Regions from separate parts of the Homo sapiens genome. Here all the other regions are linked to region 3. The links are contacts of gene promoters, found by promoter capture Hi-C in human tissues and cell types (Jung and others, 2019). All regions are on one chromosome and are shown on one strand. Each heading gives the region's core, a stretch centred on a gene start or on the middle of the fragment in contact. The rest is flanking DNA. Distances are from core to core; before and after follow the strand shown. Region 1 overlaps SLBP (stem-loop histone mRNA binding protein). Region 2 holds the start of LOC124900163 (chloride intracellular channel protein 6-like). Region 3 holds the start of MAEA (macrophage erythroblast attacher, E3 ubiquitin ligase). Region 4 overlaps GAK (cyclin G associated kinase). Region 5 holds the start of TMEM129 (transmembrane protein 129, E3 ubiquitin ligase).

Region 1 (2,700 bases), core at 159-2,658, 410 kb after region 3:
CAGAGGGAGACTCCGTCTCAAAAATAAATAAATAAATAAAAAATCAACTGAGATCCTACAAAATGAACAAATATGTTTAAAAAAATTAAAAAATTAAAAAGCACTATCCGGGCCGGGTGCGGTGGCTCACACCTGTAATCCCAGCACTTTGGGAGGCCGAGGCAGGCAGATCACCCAAAGTCAGGAGTTCGAGACCAGCCTGACCAACATGGAGAAACACCATCTGTACTAAAAATACAAAAAAATTAGCCCAGGCATGGTGGCGCATGCCTGTAATTCCAGCTACTTGGGAGGCTGAGGCAGGAGAATCGCTTGAACCTGGGAGGCGGAGGTTGCGGTGAGCCAAGATTGCACCATTGTACTCCAGCCTGGACTAGAGTGAAACTCGGTCTCAAAAAAATCACTATCCGCTGGGCACAGTGGCTCACGCTTGTAATCACAGTACTTTGGGAGGACTACTTGAGGCCAGGAGTTCAAGACCAGCCTGGGCGACATAGGGAGACTCCCATCTCTATAAAAATTTAAAAGTTTAGCCAGGTGTGGCGGCATGCACCGCTGGTCCCAGCTACTCAGGAGGTTGAGGTAGGAGGATTGCTTGAGGCCAGGAGTTAAGACTACAGTGAGCCATGATGGTTGGGCGTGGTGGCTCACCCCTGTAATCCCAGCACTGTGGGAGGCAGAGACAGACGGATCACGAGATCAGCAGTGCGAGACCAGCCTGGCCAATATGGTAAAACCCCATCTCTACTGAAAATACGAAAATTAACCAAGTGTGGTGGCAGGCGCCTGTGGAGGCTGAGGCAGGAGAATCGCTTGAACCCGAGAGGTGGAGTTGAAATTGCGCCACTGCACTCCAGCCTGGGCAACAGAGCAAGATTCCGTCTCAAAAAAATGAATACACAGTGAGACATGATATAACACTGCACTTCAGCCTAGGTAACAGCAAGACTCGGTCAGGAGGGAAAAAAAAAAGCACCATCACATTGAATCTTACTATTCCTTTGCCAGCTATGTTCCAAAAAAGTAAAAAAAAAAAAAAAAAATTGTTTTTTTTGAGATGGAGTCTTGCTCTGTGACCCAGGCTGGAGTGCAGTGGTGCAATCTCGGCTCACTGCAACCTCCTCCTCCCAGGTTCAAGTGATTCTCCTGCCTCAGCCTCCCGAGTAGCTGGGACTACAAATGTGTGCCACCACGCCCAGCAAATTTCTTGTATTTTTAGTAGAGACGGGGTTCCACCGTGTTAGCCAGGGTGGTCTCGATCTCCTGACCTCATGATCCGCACTCCTCGGCCTCCCAAAGTGCTGGGATTACAGGCATGAGCCACTGCACTCAGCCAAAAGTAAAATTTTTTTTTTTAAGAGACAAAGTCTCATACTCTGCAGCCCAGGCTGGAGTGCAGTGGTGTGATTAATGGTTCACTGTAACGTTGAATTCCTGGGCTGAAGCAGTTCTCCCACCTGTCTCCCAAGTAGCTGGGACTACAGGTGCAAACCACCACACCTGGCTAATTTTTAAATTTTTTGTAGAGATGAGGTCTCCTTATATTGCCCAGGCTAGTCTCCTGGCCTCAAGCAGTCCTCTCGGCCTCCCAAAGTGCTGGAATTACAAGCATGAGCCATTGCACCTGGCCCAGAAATGTAAATTTCAACCCCAATCCTGCCAAAAAGTTCAGGAAAACACTAAAGCTTTCTTTATATCCTTCTGTGTCTGTGTGTTTGAGGGACCAGGATAGGCAAGAACATGCTGCTTAAAGACAATAGGGCAATGCCAATTTTTTTTTCTCCAATTAGAATTTTACAATATTTAACTTGAACTTCATTTTTCCCCATCATGTATTTTAATAAGCTTACATCTATGATTGCTGACTCCTAAGAAATAAAATGTTATCTAACATTCAAAATTATATGAAAATGATTTTTAAAATCTTCATGTCTTTAGTTTTCCAGTTGCCAATCCATTCTTTATTTACGTCATAAGCCCCAGTAAGTCCCTATTAAATAGCTCTTAGCAGGTGTGAACTATCCCCAGCATCATTTGTACTACCCAATCTAAGCAACTCTTTAGAAACGCAATGCCACACAGCTTGTTCAAGACATGCCACTGAAACAAGACTACCTTGGGACTTCTTTAATATAACGATCGTAGGCAATTGTGTTCTTCCCATAGTTGATCTGCTTCTGTCTCCTCATTAGGACACTTTCATCTGTCTCAAAGTCAGCCGGCACAGTAGACATAGACTCCTTTGAATCAGAACTGAAAAAACAACAGATTAACAGAATAAGCCCTGCAATTAAGATCACCATGTATGTAAGGTAAGCCAAGAAAATGTCAAAACACAATAATGGAAGATTCACTCCAGATTCCCAACCATATGAATCCTAAATAGTCCGGAGACTGCATGTATGGGAATTTAGTACACAACAGATACAGTATTTCAAATTAGTGAAAAAGGTATTAATAAATGCTACTGCGACAGTCAGCATTTCTGACAGTCACAATTTTTTTTTTTTAACAAATTACAGGTCTATCAAATTAGAAAAGAAACATTTACACAGCCTTTACCTTCCTGATGATGATTTTCTCTCTCTTCCAAAGTCATTGATGAGGAGTTTCCTTTTATATCTGAGGGCAAAATAAATATTGCTGTTTTTAAAAAAGATATAAAAATAAAGCAGCCAGGTCTGAGGAAGCTCCACCCTG
Region 2 (2,700 bases), core at 94-2,593, 510 kb before region 3:
GCCCACTGAGCCAGCCAGCCCGAGGGTGGAAAAGTCATTCTGGCTCTAAGCTTCCAGCACAGTCCGGGAGACCACACGGGTCCTGGGGAGGGTGGCTAAGCCCGAGGGGCTTTATAGGATGAGTCACAAGAAAGTCCATCTGGTGGGCCCTCCCTGACTCCCCTCCACTGTCCCCGGCTCACGGCGAGGAAGGCAAGGCTGGTGGGGGGGACAGGAAAGGGCTGGGGTCTCTCCCCACCTCCACTGCCAACGCCCTGCAGACCCCCAGGCCACAGCCTTTCCCGGGGCTCCCCCAAGGTATGGGAGGTGGGGCGGGTCCAGTTTACGCTGGTTTCAAAGAAGTGAGAGCGCCCCGCCGCCATGTCATGGAGGGTCCCGCGCCCCCACCCCTTGCCTGGGGTCGTGTGTGGGCAGCCGCAGAAAGCGCCCCGACGGCAGGAGCGGGGTTCCAGGCTGAGACCGGGCCTCGGCGGCGCCCCTTCCTGCCGGGAGTGGCGCATCCCAGGACCCACAGACAAACAGGGCCAGCCAGGGTCACCCGGAGCGCGAAGGCCGGCTATGGGCTTAGGGTGGGGTCTGGTCCCTACGGCCGGCCTAGGGGGAACGCGGGACAGGAGAAGGTCTGGGAAAAACCTGCTTCCGAGGCCTCGGCTTCGGGGCGTCCTCCTGAGCTGGCGCCAGCCCGCAGCGGGGCCGGGCAGGGACGCCGGCCTAACGGTGGGGACCGGCAGGGCCTGGGGGCAGGACGAGACAAGCACACAACCGACGGGGCGGGGCCAGGCGAGGGCACGGGGCCGAAGAAGCTTCTGCCAGGCCCGAGACCCGCACTTAGTTACCTGAGAAGGCGGGAAGGTGCGGCCGCGGGGTGAGCGGCGGACTGACCCAGCTCCAGCGCCTCTGCAGAGGCTTGCAATGGCGTCTCTCGGGCTCTGATTGGTCAGGCCTCCACACGTGAGCCTCTAGGAGCCAATCATGTCGGCCCACCTAGCATGCGCTGATTGGCTCAGGCTGGCCAGGGGCGGGCGCGGTCCTTCCACGGCCCGGTCCCCGCTCCCTTCCCCAGGCCCGGAGGCCCCGCCCGAGCGGCTCCGCTGGGGGCGGTTCTGCTGGAGAGGACGGATCTGCTGGGGAGATGGATATCCTGGAGGGGCGGATCTACTCGGGGGGCGGGTCTGCTGGGAAGGCCGGATCTGCTGTGAGGGGCGGGTCTTCTGGAGGGGCCGATCTGCTGAGGGGGCCGGATCTGCTGCCTGACAGGGCTTCCTGGCCTGGGGAGGAGGCCGTGTCTGGAGCTTGAAAGCCGGCCCCGCTGTGTTCAAGATACAGTCAAACGTTCAGAAGGAGGAGACTCCGGGGGCAGGGTGGTGCCCAGCCAGTGCATGGGGCCAGGGCCACGCTGGTGGCACCCAGGCAGCGCTGCCTCCTGGCTCTCGAATGGCTGTTCTCTGCCCAGAATGCTCTCCCACGGGACACGCGCCTCCCTCCGGGTCTGTGCACGTCACTCTGACAGAGAGGCCCCCTGACCACTCATGAAATAGTAACCCTAACCATTGCTCTCTGCTCCCTGTCCTGCTTGATTTTCCTCCAGGGCAAACACCGCCACTTCCATGTTTATCATCTGTCCTCCATCACTAGGAAAACCAGTTCCAGGAGGGAGGGACTAGTATTCCCAGCCCCTAGAACAGAGCAGCGCATATCACAGGGGCTCAGTAAACATCTGGGGAGGAGTGCCATTCCCAGGAGGCCTCAGACCCCGTCACCTGAGATGAGAGCTGGATCCCGGAGAAGCTCAGGTCTGACCCAGCATTCATTGCTGTAGGAAGGGCTCGTCTAGACTCCAAGGGAGCCGGGTGCGGTGGCTCACGCCTGAAATCCCAGCACTTCGGAAGGCCGAGGCGGGCGGATCACCAGGTCAGGAGATCCAGACCATCCTGGCTAACACGGTGAAACCCCGTCTCTACTAAAAATACAAAAAATTAGCCGGGCGTGGTGGCGGGTGCCTGTAGTCCCAGCTACTCGGGAGGCTGAGGCAGGAGAATGGTGTGAACTTGGGAGCGGAGCTTGCAGTGAGCCGAGATCGCACCACTGCACTCCATCCTGGGGGACAGAGAGAGACTCTGTCTCAAAAAAAAAAGACTCCAAGGGAAAGCTGCCTGGGTCGTGACCTGGCACGTCCAAGTCGCTGCTTAGGCTTGCAAGGGGGTCCAGACCAGGCTGTGGATGGGAAATGGGAGGCTGGGGGAGGATGGAGGCTGAGCAGTGGCTGGATGTTGGGGTGCCCTGTTGAGGGGCAGCTGGCAGCAGCCACGGACACAGGGGTGGGTGCAAAGACACTGAGTTTCTGTTCCAGGAGGAAGGGGGGCCAGCTGGCAGAGGAGAGATCACCCTGGGCAATTTGGTGGTGCCTGGGGTGCACACTTCCCCAGAGGCAGCAGGAGGAGGAGCTGGATACACCCTTCCCTGGGCTTGGAGGAGAGCACGTTCCCTCCCAGCTCCCACCTGGCATCCAGGAGGGCCCGGCCTGGGGTCAGGGCACATGGGGCCCTCCTGCCCTGGGACTGGGCAGCTCCCTGGGGCATTCCCAGCCAGCAGCATCAGGAAGGTTACAGGAGACCCAGACATGCTGCTCCCTAGAGAGGGCTCCTGACAAAGATTTTTTGTGTGGTCAAACTTTAGTTAACTTCCTGAATCTTCTGGTAG
Region 3 (2,700 bases), core at 15-2,514:
AGACACGATGCGAACCGTGAAAGGACGCAAAGAGTACAGAGTGCATGCTTCCATCTCTATAGGAAGGTCAGGAACGCTGTTACGGGGAGCAGGGTTAGAATGATGGGGATATAGCCCGGGAAGGGGCAGAGGAGCTTTCTGTGCCACGGGAAATGTCCTAAATCTCAACCAGGACACGGTTAGATAAAAGTGCAAATATGGGTGAAAATTCATTAAAGCTGTATAGTTAAGATTTGTGCACCTCACTGTAAAACTTACTTCAAATGTCTAAAAGACTGGAGTCTGCAGCCACACACTTGAGGAATAACACTTTCCTTAGTCCCAACTCCTGTTTAAGTAAGACAGAGAAAGATTCCACAGTGCGGGTCGGATGTCTTGCGGCTGTAACATGTAGCAGCCTCCAAGCGGAGGTTCTCCCTTCATCGCTGTGTCACCTTAGATGTTTTTCCTTTGTTTAAACACCAAATATTTTAAAAGTTGTTTAGAAATGTGTTATGTGAAACACAAGGTGGTTTAATTGGGACGTCATTTCCTAATTAATAAAATCTAATTTCAGTTTTATTTTGGAAAGGAGGGAGACGGGTGGTGTTTGAAAGGCTGAGAATGTGAAGTGGCTGAAATGAAGGCAGCGCACGACCTGGATGCCAGCGCTGCCCGCCCTGCAAGGAGAGGGCGGAGAGGCCACACGCTTCTCATGCTTCGGGAGTTTCTGTCCATAAATCAGTTTTAGGTACTGGGCCTTTCCTCTTCCGTTGGGAAGTCGGAGGTTCCACATCAGGATTCCAGCAGCTGTAAATCGGTCAAAATAAGGCCAAAGAAAAATAGCTGGCTACAGGCGCATGCGGCCAGGCGTTTTGTTGGCGTTGCCCTTGGTACCGCAGGCACGAGGGACCCACAGGGGACCACCCCGCGGGAGCCCCAAGTAACTGGACGGACGCCAAGTCCCCCAGCCCGCTCGGCCCCAGCTCCACCCGCCCGGGCCGCAGCCCGCACCCCATCGGCCCGCCCCGGGCCAGGAGCATCCCCAGCTCCGGCGTCTGCGGCCTGAACCCGGTAGCGAATTCAAGGTGGAAACCGCCAGCCGGGGCTATCGTTGATTGGCTGAACGAGAGGAAACCCGGCAGTGATTGGTTCGCGCCTTCTTCCGCCTCCGGCCGACTGGGCGGATACGATTGGTGCAGGGGCATCGGCCCGCCCCCATCCTGCTCCGGCCGGCGCGTGGCGTCATTTCCCGGCGTGCAGCGCGCTCGCGCGTCCCCCGCCCGCTAATGTTTTGGCCGCTTCAAGATGGCGGTGCAGGAGTCGGCGGCTCAGTTGTCCATGACCCTGAAGGTCCAGGAGTACCCGACCCTCAAGGTGGGCGCCTGCGCCGCGCAGGCTGAGGGCAGCGAAGGCGTCTCCAGCCAGTGCCCTCGGGCCGCGAGGGGCCGCCCCGGGAGGGCCAGCGGCGAGGGCGGCGGGAGCTGGGCGCGGCCTCGCGGGGCCGTGCGGGCTTCTCAGGGGCGCCCGGTCCGCGCCGGGCAGGTGTGGCGGGGGCGGCGGCTTTGGCCCTGCCAGGCGCCCGACTGTGGCCCCTCTGCTTGAAGAGCTGCGTGAGCCGAGCCAGCGACGACTCTGGCAGCGCTAAGGGTGGCGAATTTGGGGCTGGGGTGGAAGCCGGAGTTTGCGGGGCGTGGGGTCTCTGGCGCCCAGGCAGACGGAGTGCGCGGCGTGCCCAGCCAGTGCCCGGCCGCCCTCCCGGGAGCCCAGGGCTGGGAGGTGCCGGCTGCGCCGGTCGCTAGTTAGGAACTGTAGGGAGAAACCTCACGGCCTGATGGCACCCAGCGACCTTTTTGATGGGCGTCACCAAACCTGAAATACAGCTCTTGCCGTCCGGCTGCCGGTTGCGTGACCTTGGGTGGTCACCTAGCCACGTCGCACTTCTTAGAATGAAATTTGTGCTCCTAGTAGAAGGAGCCGATACTTGTTCTTTACCTAGTTAGTAGAGGATTTGATATGAAGCACCTGGGAAGGAATTCCTTAAAAGATCAAGGTCATAGCTTTCCTAGAGCTGCGGCTGAGCTTCGTGGTTCTGTGTTGCCTTCCTGGAGAGCTGCGTAGTTTCTCTCTCCTCCCAGAGCGCCCTGGTGTTCACGTCCGTCTGAGGACGGACGGTGTGGCGACAGGTGTGGAGGATGCAGTATGGCCAGGTTGCTGTGCGTTCCCCCAGCCCCAGGGCAGTTCAGCGAAGGGCTGAAGAGCACAGGCTGTGAGCCATCCTGCTGGGGTGTGAATCAGGCTTCTCTGTATTCGTCCTTACTGGGAGACATCAGGGCCCGGTTGGTGACTGTTTATTCTTGTCAGGTTTAAGCAGTGGTAGCGCCTGTGTCACCTCAGGGTGAAATGAGTGACCACGTATTGTTTCAAACAGTGCCTAGCATTCATTAAAAGGTCCCTGCTACAGTTAGCGCTGCTGAAGTCAGGCTGTACCCTGCTGTAGCTGGTCTTCATAGGAAAGCAGAAGCAAGCTTCTCCTCCTCTTTATTAACTAGCGGTTTATTTCATATTTTTAAAAAGAAACGGGGTTTCACTGTTGCCTAGGGTGGTTTTGGATTCCAGGACTTAAGCGATCCTCCTGCCTTTTGACCTCCCAAAGCGCTGGGCTGACAGGTGTGAGCCACGCGCCCGCCACACTAATGGTTTCGCAGTGGGGTTTCATGG
Region 4 (2,700 bases), core at 145-2,644, 380 kb before region 3:
CCCCGAGTGCTCGACTTCCCCTCGTCACCTGGCACAGGAGTTCTGGAGGGCATCGGCACGAGGCAGGGCTGGGGGTGGAGCCGCCCTCTGAGGCACAGGTCTTGTTTCCCCTTTGCAGACACAGCCTGAGGCTCAGCAGGGTCAGGCCAGGTCTCCGGCCAGTCAGCGTGGGCTCCGGTGACACCAACACGACATCCCCCGCAGTCACTCACACAGACCACTCTGCCCCTAGAACTCTCCGAAAGCACCACCCCAACCCACCGGCCTCTCTTCCTGTCCTGACAAACGGACCATGGAGTCGTTGTGCCATCTTCCTGGGCTCAACCCTGATGAGGCTGGGCACCCACAGAGGGACCTGGAGTTGTCCACCTCTGCGGCCTCTCTTCTCCTTGCCAGGACCCCAGAGCCCCTGACAAGGACGGACAGCAGCACTCCTCCACCCTGCTCAACACCGCTCATGGAAGGCCACCACGCTCCACCCCACAGGGACCCCAGAGCCCTGAGAAGGACAGACGCTCCTCCACCCCTGCTAAACACCACTCACGGAAGGCCACCACGCTCTACCCCGTGCTGCCACTGGAGACAGGCAGGATGGGAGCCCGGCTCTCTGGCTGCCCGCAGCTCCACGAGGAGACGATGCAGGTGGCCCACCGGGACAGTGGGAAGCTCACTGGGCGTCAGCGTGGGCCTCTCACAGAACTACTGTCAGAGAGCTGCCCGCGCTTCCCGCTAAGACCAACACAGCTTGAGAGAAGATGCCGGGCATGTTTCACAGCCATGCAGCTGGGTTAGGAGGCATCAAGCCGGCCTCTGCTGGGTTAGATGGCACCAAGCCGGCCTTCACAGGACGTTACCTTTACAGAGCTCTGTGAGCAAGAGGAACTCAGCCTGCCCCGTGTCTGACTCCTCTTTTCCTATAGACGCTGCAGAACAAAACTGGACAATGTTCGGGTGGCCGGAAAGCTTTTTCTGCAGTTGTCTTGTTAAAGGAGAACGTACATAACCATGTCCACAGTTCTGTGCACTTCAAAATAAATGTAGACAATATTAACACACTGAAGTCAGAATACTTGAATCGAACCCTTACAATTTTAGACGTCAGAGCGGAAGATGAGGGAGAGAGCAGTGGACGACCGAGAGAAAGGCAGACAGAGGCAGGAGGAGCTGCAGGAGAGGGCGGGGACAAAGGCAGGCACACCGGCCACACACACCTGACCACAGCGACACCAAAGTCCATCCCGCGCGTGGCAGGAGGAGGCAGGGCCCTCAGGGGGCTGTGCGCAGGGAGGCTGCGGCGTGGCTGTGTCCACCCGAACCCACACTCAGGCAGCCGGCGGGCTCTCCGAGTGAACAGAGCTAGGAGAGGAAAGAGAGGCAGAGTCTGAGGGCAGCCAGGGCCGAAGACTCCAGGCTCAGGAGGGACATGTGGCAGTGGACAGGGAGTGCAGCCCCCAGATCCTCTGTCAGCGCCGGGAGATGCCCCGCCCAGTCATGCTGGGACAGCCTGAGAAGGGACGAGAGGGGCGGCTGAGAAGCCACATCGGGGCCTGTGGGAGCCAGGCCATCTGCACGGCTCTCAGCCAGGTCTCCGGAGGAGCTGAGGGGGCCGGGCCGGGCAAGGGCCCCCTGTGGTAACCAGCCCATCCACTGGGCAGGGAGACCTCTTGGGTAGGAACAACTTCATTCCCAACACTTCTGAATCTTCTACTATTACCCTGGCAGTAAAAAAAAAACAGAAAAAACTGCTTCTTCCTAGAAGTCGCCTACAACTAGGTTTGGTAAAAGCAAAAAGCCGATTTTAACACATGAAAGACAACGTCACGGAGCAGCCTCTTGGCCACTGGCGGTCACAGCTTGACGCAGGCCTGTGCCTGCCAAAGCCACCGTGCTGGCTCCTGGTTCCAGGAAAAGGATACCATGAAGCAAACTTCTTGAATGATGGCTCTGTTCTTTTCCTCTTCATTGGATAATAGCCTCTGTATCAGGAAACAGCACACACAAAAGATGAAAGCAAGTTTACCTTCCTACTCCACCCGATGCATCATCTCAGACATAAGCACGCAACAGAGCAATGCAATGTGTCTAATACAGCTCCCCCCGTTTCGTGTGTCTCCACCTCTGACCCCTGTAAAAACGTGCTGGGGGTTCAAGACCCTCAAAAGATCTTTGTGATGCAAGGACACAAGAAAAGTCAAAAGCAGGAGCCTTTCCCCAAATGGGCCAGAGTAAAATGAGACAGACAAGAAGGAAGAGCGGCAATGCTCTGCAGACACGGGGGCAGCAGGCGTGCAGACCACGACAACAGGCCCACTCATGCCCACTCTCAAAGGCGGGGCCACCCTGGTGCCCAGCGTGGTGACAGCAAATGGGGCCTTCTTACGTCTCAGGACAAAACTGCACAGTACAGACCCTCCCACAGTGACCCCTATTTACAGAAATGCTAGCAACAAATATTTTTTACAAGCAGCTTTTAAACTCCTTGTATTCATAGAGCCCTTATTTTGGCACATGGAGGCCAAGAGGGCATGACCCCACCATGAGGTCACCCCCAGCACAGCCCCTGCCACAGGGCAGGCAGGGCCACAGGAGTGTGAAGCCCAAAGCTGGAGACCAAGGCTCCTGCAGTGCCCAAGGCTGCTGAGATTCAGCAGAAGCAAAAGGGACAAGTATGTCCAGGCTGTAAAAGGAAACAAAGTACGT
Region 5 (2,700 bases), core at 99-2,598, 430 kb after region 3:
CCGTGTCCTCCAGAGGTACCCCCTTGAAATCCCCCTCCAGCCACTGCACACCCCACCTCCCACCTGTCCGTCATCCAATCAGCTGAGAGAGGGACCTTCCAGAGCCCCAGCTAGCACCTGGGGCCCAGCCCAGCACCCCCCTGGACAACTCTGAGCGTCCCACCTGCACTGCACAGAGGCCCTCCCCAGCCTCTGCCCCTGTGGCGCCCCCAAACTGGAACTGCCTCCAAATCCGCCTGTTCTCTCCACACCCACCTTCCAAGGCCTAGTGCAGTGCCACCCTCCACACAGCCCCTCCGACCCCTTCCGTTGGACTCAATCAACAGTTGCCTTCTCCTGGCCACTGCCCCCAACCACGACAAGCAAGGGCTGCTTGGCCTTGCAACCCCCAGGCACGTGACGGTTCAGGACTTGGTGGGCCGGAGCATCCCTTGCCCAAGGTTCTGAACTTGGGTTCCCGTCACCTGCAAGTCAGTGCCGGCGGCGCCCCTAAGCGCGCTCAGCCCACGCCGCGGTCCCTCTGGATGAGGACCGGCGCCTCTCCCCAGCTGCGCCCAGGCGCTTTCGGGGCCTCGGGGAGCTGGCGGAGGCCTCCTCCTGACCTCCCAGCAAGCCCTGCGCAGGAGAGGATGCGGCCGGCCGGCCCGAGCAGCCTCACCGAGCGGCAGCAGCGAGTGGCACAACAGCGTGGCGGCCGTGCGGCGCAAGTGGAAGGGCACGAAGGCGGCGTCCTCGCTGCCCAGCCAGCCCGACAGCAGGTTCTGCACCGTGAGCCCCGCCGCGTGGAACTCGTTGGGCGTGAACACGAAGCACACGGCGAACACCAGATAGGCGAGAGTGAAGGTCACCTCGGGGCTGTCCATCGCGCAGCCGCCGGGAAGCTGTCGAGCTAGGCCCCCGCCCCGGCGCGCGGACGAGGCCGCAGCGCCCAGTCCCGGACCTGTCGGTTGCGGCGGCCGCCGCCCGGCCGCCCGCGGGGCACTCTAGGACATGGAGTCCCGCCGCCCGGCCGCCCGCGGGGCACTCTAGGACATGGAGTCCCGCCGCCCGGCCGCCCGCGGGGCACTCTAGGACATGGAGTCCCGCCGCCCGGCCGCCCGCGGGGCACTCTAGGGCATGGAGTCCCGCCGCTCGGCCGCTCGCGGGGCGCTCTGGGAGATGCAGTCCCCGTGCGGGTGCGGCCTCTCTTCTCGGCCGGCCCTGGAGGCGGCACCGCACCTGTGCATTGAGCACAGGTGGGGAAACTTAGGCCTGAGCGAGGCCCTGGCCATGAAGCCCCGCCCAGTAGCGTCAGTTGCGGAACTCGAAATTCATGGGGCGACTGCGAGCCCGGGGTCTCAGCTTCAGACACCCTGGCGTGCCCTCCACTCCGGAAACGGAACCGTCGGCGCCCGAGCGGGGGGTGGGGGGGGAGGGAGGGCGGAGCCGGCGAGGCACAGCTTCCCATTGGACGCCCGCCCTCCTGCGGTCCTGCCCCCGGCCGCGCGCTGATTGGCCGCGCGAAGGCAACCGTCGGCGTTTGAAACTCCGGCGCGCCGGCGGCCATCAAGGGCTAGAAGCGCGACGGCGGTAGCAGCTAGGCTTGGCCCCCGGCGTGGAGCAGACGCGGACCCCTCCTTCCTGGCGGCGGCGGCGCGGGCTCAGAGCCCGGCAACGGGCGGGCGGGCAGGTAGGAGAGCGGCTACACGGCGCGGGGAGGCTGGGGTCCTGGGGGCGCGAGGCCGTCCCGCCCCGCCCCGCCCTCGGCCCTCGCCCTCCCGCCCCGGCCGCCGCTTTCCCCGGGAAGCGTCCCCCACGGCTCCTCCTGGGGCCGCCGCCAGAACCTGTACCGCGCCCTGTCATGGGACCCGGCCCTAGACCGACCGCCGGGCTGGGCCCCCTGGATGGTGGCCAGGGGCGGCTAGAGCTGGGCCAAGACCGACGGCGGAGCGGGCGCCCCGAGGTGCTTTGCTCTCCTCGACCCTCTCCTGTCTCTCGGTCGCCCACCTTGGCTCTTTGTTGGCTCCCAGCACGCGGACCCTCCTGTTGTTCTTTGGTCCCTTCCGGCCTCCGTCCTGGGGCCAACTCCATCTAGGCCGCCTGCGGCGGACACCTGGGCCCCTACCGCTTCCCCGCACCTGCTGCGCCGCTCCACCTTCCCCCCGCACCGCATCCCTCTTGTGCACCAGAGTAGCACCAAAGCACCAGCCTGGGGCCGGTCCCTTCTCTGCCCAGAGCCCCTCCCGGGCCTCCATAGTCAGTAAAGGCCCCTCCTGACTAAGGCTGGGTCTGCTGCTCTCCCGAGCTCCTCCAGGCCGCCAGAAGGCTTCCTCCGAGTCACTTTCTCCCTGAGTTCGAGGCTTGCGGGTCCCCCAGCGATCCAGCACCCCTTCCCCTGCCCTGTACCCAGTTATTCAGGGCGAAAACCTAAGCGTCGTCCGTAAGTCCCATATGTGCCAGTGGCCAGGCCCGGGTCTGGTCTGGCATCTACTCCTTGGGCTCCAGAAGCCTGTGGTTTCCCTGCTTCCCTTCTGCTCTTAACCTCCCCACCCACACACAGCACCACAGTGGGCTTCTCAAGCTGCAGCACCGACCTGCCGGGGCTGCCCCCTCTCTCTTCTCCAGGACCCTCCCCAACTTTGCTCTTCTTCAAATCAAAGCCTCCCCAGGTCCCCCTCCACCACCAGGTGCCTGTGGGGTTCCTGCCCTGGTCGACACTCG

Evidence for each region. Contacts are between HindIII fragments. The study calls those that stand out against the background at their distance.
Region 1: a contact is called between a fragment that was not itself captured here and the fragment with the promoter of MAEA in region 3, in 3 of the 25 tissues and cell types used here (dorsolateral prefrontal cortex, hippocampus and mesendoderm cells).
Region 2: a contact is called between a fragment that was not itself captured here and the fragment with the promoter of MAEA in region 3, in 2 of the 25 tissues and cell types used here (dorsolateral prefrontal cortex and mesendoderm cells).
Region 4: a contact is called between a fragment that was not itself captured here and the fragment with the promoter of MAEA in region 3, in 2 of the 25 tissues and cell types used here (IMR-90 fibroblasts and lymphoblastoid cells).
Region 5: the fragment with the promoter of TMEM129 here is called in contact with the fragment with the promoter of MAEA in region 3 in 1 of the 25 tissues and cell types used here (dorsolateral prefrontal cortex).

The regions. Positions count from the first base shown.
Region 1 is chr4:1,697,449-1,700,148 of GRCh38, forward strand. SLBP (stem-loop histone mRNA binding protein) reads right to left here. Exons shown (of 8, transcript NM_006527.4): 4 at 2,563-2,622; 5 at 2,116-2,253. Among named protein-coding and RNA genes, the nearest start is that of SLBP, 14 kb to the right of the region's middle. The HindIII fragment of the contact is 4,940 bases long and covers 1-2,700 here.
Region 2 is chr4:780,936-783,635 of GRCh38, forward strand. It overlaps LOC124900163 (chloride intracellular channel protein 6-like), which reads right to left and starts at 913. Exons shown (of 2, transcript XM_047416474.1): 1 at 837-913. It overlaps PCGF3-AS1 (PCGF3 antisense RNA 1), which reads right to left and starts at 914. Exons shown (of 3, transcript NR_171661.1): 1 at 837-914. RefSeq lists enhancers at 29-746, 747-1,463, 1,464-2,181 and silencers at 673-752, 853-1,202. The HindIII fragment of the contact is 6,790 bases long and covers 1-2,700 here.
Region 3 is chr4:1,288,627-1,291,326 of GRCh38, forward strand. It overlaps MAEA (macrophage erythroblast attacher, E3 ubiquitin ligase), which reads left to right and starts at 1,265. Exons shown (of 9, transcript NM_001017405.3): 1 at 1,265-1,356. The coding sequence starts at 1,288. LOC105374347 (a long non-coding RNA gene) reads right to left here and starts at 945. Exons shown (of 3, transcript XR_925046.3): 1 at 259-945. RefSeq lists silencers at 786-1,195, 1,296-1,575, 2,664-2,700. The HindIII fragment of the contact is 22,633 bases long and covers 1-2,700 here.
Region 4 is chr4:910,819-913,518 of GRCh38, forward strand. GAK (cyclin G associated kinase) reads right to left here. Exons shown (of 28, transcript NM_005255.4): 3 at 1,917-1,976; 4 at 855-969. Among named protein-coding and RNA genes, the nearest start is that of GAK, 20 kb to the right of the region's middle. RefSeq lists enhancers at 1,071-1,976, 1,977-2,700 and a silencer at 1,727-1,885. The HindIII fragment of the contact is 5,304 bases long and covers 1-2,700 here.
Region 5 is chr4:1,719,975-1,722,674 of GRCh38, forward strand. TMEM129 (transmembrane protein 129, E3 ubiquitin ligase) reads right to left here and starts at 1,349. Exons shown (of 4, transcript NM_001127266.2): 1 at 659-1,349. The coding sequence starts at 863. TACC3 (transforming acidic coiled-coil containing protein 3) reads left to right here and starts at 1,547. Exons shown (of 16, transcript NM_006342.3): 1 at 1,547-1,669. RefSeq lists enhancers at 200-299, 1,382-2,377 and silencers at 890-939, 950-1,759. The HindIII fragment of the contact is 14,879 bases long and covers 1-2,700 here.